Regions from separate parts of the Homo sapiens genome. Here region 1 is linked to region 2. Evidence: promoter capture Hi-C in human tissues and cell types (Jung and others, 2019). All regions are on one chromosome and are shown on one strand. The core of a region is centred on a gene start or on the middle of the fragment in contact, and the rest is flanking DNA. Distances in the headings are between cores, read along the strand shown. Region 1 holds the start of CRABP1 (cellular retinoic acid binding protein 1). Region 2 overlaps IREB2 (iron responsive element binding protein 2).

Region 1 (3,007 bases), core at 503-3,002, 120 kb before region 2:
TTGGGAGGCTGAGCCAGGAGAATCATTTAAACCCAGGAGGCAGAGGTTGCAGTGAGCCAAGATTGCGCCACTGCACTCCAGCTCGGGCAACAGAGCGAGACTCTGTCTCAAAACAAACAAACAAACAAAAAGTATTCTGACGTTCAAGCTGGCAATAGCAGAGCATTCCTGCTTTTCCATTTTCCAATCTAACTATCAGGCCCTTCTAAGTGCATGGCCCTGTGTGACTGCACAGACGGCACGTCCAGAATGCCGGCCCTGCCCATGCCCCTTTCCAGCTGGTGATGGCCCCACTCCCCTCTCCTGTCCTCAGCTGCTTTCTTAGACAGATCCTCGGAGCCTCCTGGCAGCAACCCAGCCCCAGCCACCTCCAGAAGTTTCCAGGGCCCTGTTCAGTAGGCACTCAGCACAGATTCCCCAAGGTCCTGGGGGAATCTTCACCCCAGGCCACCACTCACATCCTCCTCAAATCAATGCACAGTTATCGAGCCCCACCTGGCTAAGCCTTAGGAAGGGAGGACAAGTGGATAAACGATCACTGCCCTCCAGGAGTTCAGTTTATAGCAGAGCGAAGACTTGAACAAGAGCAGGACCGGACAAGAATCCTGTCAATTCAGAGAAAAATAATCACAGTTTATTAGGAAACTGAATTTCACAAAAGAGAGAGCATAAAGATGGGCTTTCGTGAATGGGCAAGATTTGATTAACCCGATGAGGAAAGGGGCATTCAAGGAAGAAGCCATGGCATGGGCAAAAACTTAGAGATAATAAAATGCATGGCACGTTCTAGAATCCTGAATTGTACAGTTTGGCTGAGGTGTGCAGATGGTAAAATAGTGGGAAAAAGCTGGAAGGAAAATGTACAGAGAAGAGCTACAAGGGTAATAGTGAAGTGTTTGTACTCCCTTAGTGGAAACACCGAGGGGACTTTAGGTCGTGATGTTTAGGTTATTTGGGAGCAAAGGGAGAAGACTTCCTCCCCTTGGCCCTCACAGCCTGCCCGAAGAGTGCAAAGCCTCACGCTTTTGCAAAACAGGCCGCACCTAGCCCAGATTCTGGAGCTGATTCAGTCCATGCCTCTCGACCCACAGTTTGTCCTGAGCCCTGACAAAGGTCTGGCCCCCTCCTGCACTCGGAACGCGGAGGACCCGCAGCTCGTGGATTCGCGCCTCAGTGCCCAAGCTGGTGTTGATGGGGGTTGCGGTTTCCTGCCACTCACTCCCCATGGGTCCTGTGGGGGGCGTGGGGATGCGGGGAGAGGGTTTCAGAATAGGATCCCGGACTGGGAGGGAAGGGACACCATCTGGGCACACCCAGTAGGTACGACCGGAGGTGAAAAAAGAGTGGGTCCCATCCCCTGATGGCCCCGCTCGCTATCCACTTTAAGTTTATGTTATGGATATTTTCAAACATATTCAAAAGTAGAGAGAAAAGTAGAATCATAACCCAAGTCCACACCGCCCAGCTTCAACAGTTATCCCCTCCAAGCCCATCTTGTTTCAGCTAACCCTCTCCCACCACCCATTTTAAAGCGGGATGTGGGTGTCCTGAGGGAGGTGGAGGCTCCCCAGTTGGAGAGCGGGTGCCCGCACCTCTGGAGGCTGAGGCACAACTGGGCTGGGAGTTGAGCGCATACCGAGTAGGGGCTGCGGGGGAGCGGGGGCAGGGCCGGCGGGGCGGGGCCAGAAGCCCGGCGGGGTTGGGGGCGCTCTCCTAGTGACTCAAGGCGCGCAGCGCTGGGCGCAAAGCGCCAGTCTCCGCCTTGCGAGCTCAGAGTGTGCCCGCTGCGCCGCCGCTGTCCGTACCTGCCGCCGCCGCCACCGCCACCATGCCCAACTTCGCCGGCACCTGGAAGATGCGCAGCAGCGAGAATTTCGACGAGCTGCTCAAGGCACTGGGTAAGCTGGTGCAGAGGGCGCGCCCCGACGGGGAGATGCGGCCCGGAGGTGCCCTGGTCCCGGAAGTGCCCCGGTCCTGGAGGGGGTGGAAGTTGGGGAGCCCAGGCAGGAGGGAGTCCCCGGGGCAATAGATCGCCTTGTCTCCCAGGCGCACCGGGTCTCGGAGAAGCTGGTAGAGATCCCGGAACCCACGCGTTCAGCGAACGTTTGCTGAATGTTTGGCGCCCTCCTCGATGGTGCGGACTTTATCTCGTGCTAGATCATAGCGAGGAGAGATTACTGGAGAGCAAGGAGGATCAGGGACTTAAATTTGGAGACTCAAATTTGGGACCAGGCTCTGCCACGAATTCACTGTGCAACTCGAGGAAAGTCACTTACCCTCTCTGTGCCTCAGTCTCTCATCTCGAAAACAAGGGCGAGGGCAGGGAAACGAGTGGATCAATTTTAAGGCCCCTTTCTAAAGTTAGGGTATGACCAGTGCCCGACCGGTCCCGAGACTGGCGGCGAGGCCCCGTGACCCAAGCCTGTGGTGCACCCTGCGCAGGTGTGAACGCCATGCTGAGGAAAGTGGCCGTAGCGGCTGCGTCCAAGCCGCACGTGGAGATCCGCCAGGACGGGGATCAGTTCTACATCAAGACATCCACCACGGTGCGCACCACTGAGATCAACTTCAAGGTCGGAGAAGGCTTTGAGGAGGAGACCGTGGACGGACGCAAGTGCAGGGTGAGGCCCCAGAGCCACTACAGCGTCCCCGTGTCCCCGCTCGGTGCCCATGGCCCACTGCTGCTGGAGGAACCTGTGTCTCCCTTTGCAGCCTGTGGCGCGCCTTCCTTGCAGGGTGTGTACACTGGCTGTTTGCAGAGGGGGTTTGTGCATCCTAGTTGCCCCTGGCTCAAGACAAAGTATTACCTTCATTCCATCTCAACCCCATCCCTACGCTGCCTCCCGGGGTGCTAACAGCCGCGCTTAAAGAGCGGGCTCTGGGTTGCGCCGCGTTCCCAGCAGTGGCTTTTGCAGCGGTTTGCAGCGCCAAGCGCAGGCGGCGCAGGAGGAGGAGGAGGTTGCAGGAGCCGCCAGGTTCTCTGTCGCAGGTGAAGCCGCAGCTCTTG
Region 2 (3,148 bases), core at 351-2,850:
TTGTTTGTTTTGGTTTTTTTGTTTTTTGTTTTTTGAGACAGAGTCTCGCTCTGTTGCCCAGGCTGGAGTGCAGTGGCAAGGTCTCCGCTCGGTGTAGAATCTGCCTCCTGGGTTCAAGCAATTCTTGAGCCTCAGCCTCCTGAATAGCTTGGATTACAGGTGCATGCCACCATGCCAGGCTAATTTTTGTATTTTTAGTAGAGACGGGGTTTCGCCATGTTGGTCAGGCTGGTCTGTAACTCTTGACCTCGAGTGATCCACCCACGTCGGCCTCCCAAAATTTTGCGATTACAGGCGGTGAGCCACCGTGCCTGGCCACTTAATAAAATCTAAAACTGAGTTCGTATTCAGATTTTTCTGGTTATCTCAAAAATACATTTTTACATTTGGTTTGTTGAAACAGTATCCAAATAGGGCCAACACAGTATTTGGTTGTTACGTCTTTTAAGTTTCTTGTAATCTGTAATAGTCTTCCTCTCCTCTTTTTTCGTGCCATTTTTATGTTGAAAAACCTAGGTTCTTTATCCTGTAGAATGTCCCACATTCTAGATTTGGCTGATAGCTTCTTTGGGGTTTCATTTTACTTTCCTACTAACCCCCATGTTTTCAGTTAACTGGAAGTTAGAGCTAGAGGTTTAATTAGATTCAGGTTTATTTTTGCAAGATAGTAAGTGTTCTTATTTTTGCGAGAACACTTCCTAGTTGGAACATGTAGTTTTTTGTTTCATCAGGAGGCAAATAATATCTCTAATATCTTACTTTTGGTGATGCTAAGTGGGTATGAGTGTTACCAGCTTGTAAGCGCGCCATCCACATAAATCCTAATGATTTTAGCACCCATTTGTGACCATTATCTAGATCCATTATTTCATTAGGTGTTGCACATTGGTGATCTTTCAGATTACATCGTTTCTTCCACATTTACTAGCTGTAATTCTTCTATAACAAAGTACTTTTGTCTATTTGGTTACCTGAAAGGAGGAAAGATAATATTAACTATTGATTTTCCCCCTTTATTTGTCAGTTTTCAGAGTAATGAGTTGATGCCCTAGCAACTCTCATTGGTGATCAATGAAAGGTTTTTTAAGAGTCATTATGAACTAAGGGCTACTTATATATTTGATGTATTTTGGTGAATTATAGTTATTACTCATTTTGATGCTCAGATTGACCCGTTAGTGTCCCCATTAGTCTTTGATAACTTCTTTGGTTTCGGACACAAGATATCCAGGCTCATTTTGTACAAATCCTTCTCCAGATTAGAATCAGTCATTTCTCTGAAAAACTGTTCTGTTGTGTGTGTTTAGGAAATAGTTTTTAGAAACAACAAACAGTTGTTAAGGGTTTGTTACTGTTGGGTTGTTATTCTAGGCATTTTCAGTGACAGAGCTAGAAAATACCTAATTTTTAGGAAGAGAAAAATAAATCATGAGTTCGTATCCATGTTTATAATTGAAATGTAAGGACTTAACTTGGCTACTGTGATTTTTTTTTCCAGATTTTAAAAATAAGCTTCATTTTAAAAAAAATTAACGTGCGCTATTGGAAACTGAAAAACACAAGAAATGAGGAACAGAGTCATCCACAATCATAAGCAGTTTGACATGCCCTTCTAGGTCTTGTGTGTGTATATACATAACATCCATTTTTATGTGATTGAGATCATACAGTATGTATCATGCTTTTTCACATATCATGAACATTTATTAGTTCAGAACCCCAAAGCTACCTTCTGCCGTTCAGCTGCCAACCTATTGAATGAGTCCTGATACACCCTACCTAGGTGGTTTAACAGTTCCATGTTCAAGATGCGTCTTTTCCATCAATTATACCAAGATATTTACAAATTGGCTAACTCACTATCTCTGCTTTTTATCATACATTGTCACCTCAGGACATCTATAAAGCTTAGATGTTGCAAAATAAAGATTGAACTTTGTTCACAGTAAACAGATGAGTTACCAAAAATGCACATAGAGACCTATGGTTAAAATCTAAAACCTGTCCTCTGGATATGGAGACACTAGTAAAGAGCCTTACCCTTCACCCCTTTTCCCTCTTCTATCATTTCAGTGACTAAGTACATTACTGCATCTAGCTCTTAGAAGTAGGTTAACAAATACCACTCCCAGAAGACAGGCCTTCCTAAAAAAAAGGATGTTTAAAAACGGATTATTTTACTGCCTCTACTTTTAACATACTTTGAGCCTTAGGAGTTGTTTATCCTTTACACACAACAGTATTAACTAAATTACATATATAGAACAATGGTTAGACAATCTGAACTAATGTAACTCACAGGCACAGAAGTCTTCTCTCTGCATACTTCCTCCTCCTCGCCCCCCTCCACCTCACCCAGTGAGCAGGAAATGCAAACGCTCCTGTGAAATAACAAAAAAATACTTAGTGTTACTTTAGCTCTCATTAGCTACTCTGATTTTATACTTCTGTGCTCTTGAAACCATAGTAACAAAAAGTACTTTTTTGCTTGCTGCTTGTTACACCAGTCACAATCTCTGAATAGCAGCACTAATGACTGAATATAGTTTTCTTTCTTTGTGATACCTTTTTGTACCAAAAAGGTACTCCCAATAAGGAAGTACAGTGGAAATACCGTGTGAGATATATGCTTAGTTTTTTTGTTTATCCTTTCGTTGTTTCTTTTTGTTAAAATATGCATGCTAATATATTTTTAAAATTATATTTCTCATAATACACATTTGATGATCTTATGTTTATTTTAAAATAATATATTATGGATATGTTTTTAAACTCTCTTTCTTACAGGAAAGTTAGCATACTATAAACACTGTTCTGCCCTGCTTTTTCTCTTAATGATATATATTCTGGAGCTCACTGTTTATCAGCATGTAACTCTTCACTCCTTTAAACAGCTGCATGGTAATCCATTGTGTGGATTACAGTGATTTATTCAACTAACCCCATATTAATTCAGTCTTCTCTTTAAATCCTAAGGAAACACTTTTGTGTGGCACAATCTGGTGTGAGAATTTAATATGATTGAAAATTTTAAAATATTGAAATCACTTTCTCAATTGTGTCCTTGAAGTAATTAAGAGTGAATCAAAGTTTTCGTGAAATGAATTTTACTCACTCAGGCATTCCAATTTACTTTTAAACTTTAATC

What was found. The method cuts DNA at HindIII sites, captures the fragments that hold promoters and counts their contacts. A contact is called where the count stands out against the background at its distance.
Region 1: a contact is called between the fragment with the promoter of CRABP1 here and a fragment that was not itself captured in region 2, in 5 of the 25 tissues and cell types used here (adrenal gland, dorsolateral prefrontal cortex, mesenchymal stem cells and 2 more).

Annotation. Positions count from the first base shown.
Region 1 is chr15:78,338,601-78,341,607 of GRCh38, forward strand. It overlaps CRABP1 (cellular retinoic acid binding protein 1), which reads left to right and starts at 1,753. Exons shown (of 4, transcript NM_004378.3): 1 at 1,753-1,898; 2 at 2,443-2,621. The coding sequence starts at 1,829. RefSeq lists an enhancer at 1,303-1,931. The HindIII fragment of the contact is 13,960 bases long and covers 1-3,007 here.
Region 2 is chr15:78,459,334-78,462,481 of GRCh38, forward strand. The region is part of intron 2 of IREB2 (iron responsive element binding protein 2); the gene reads left to right. Among named protein-coding and RNA genes, the nearest start is that of IREB2, 23 kb to the left of the region's middle. The HindIII fragment of the contact is 5,727 bases long and covers 1-3,148 here.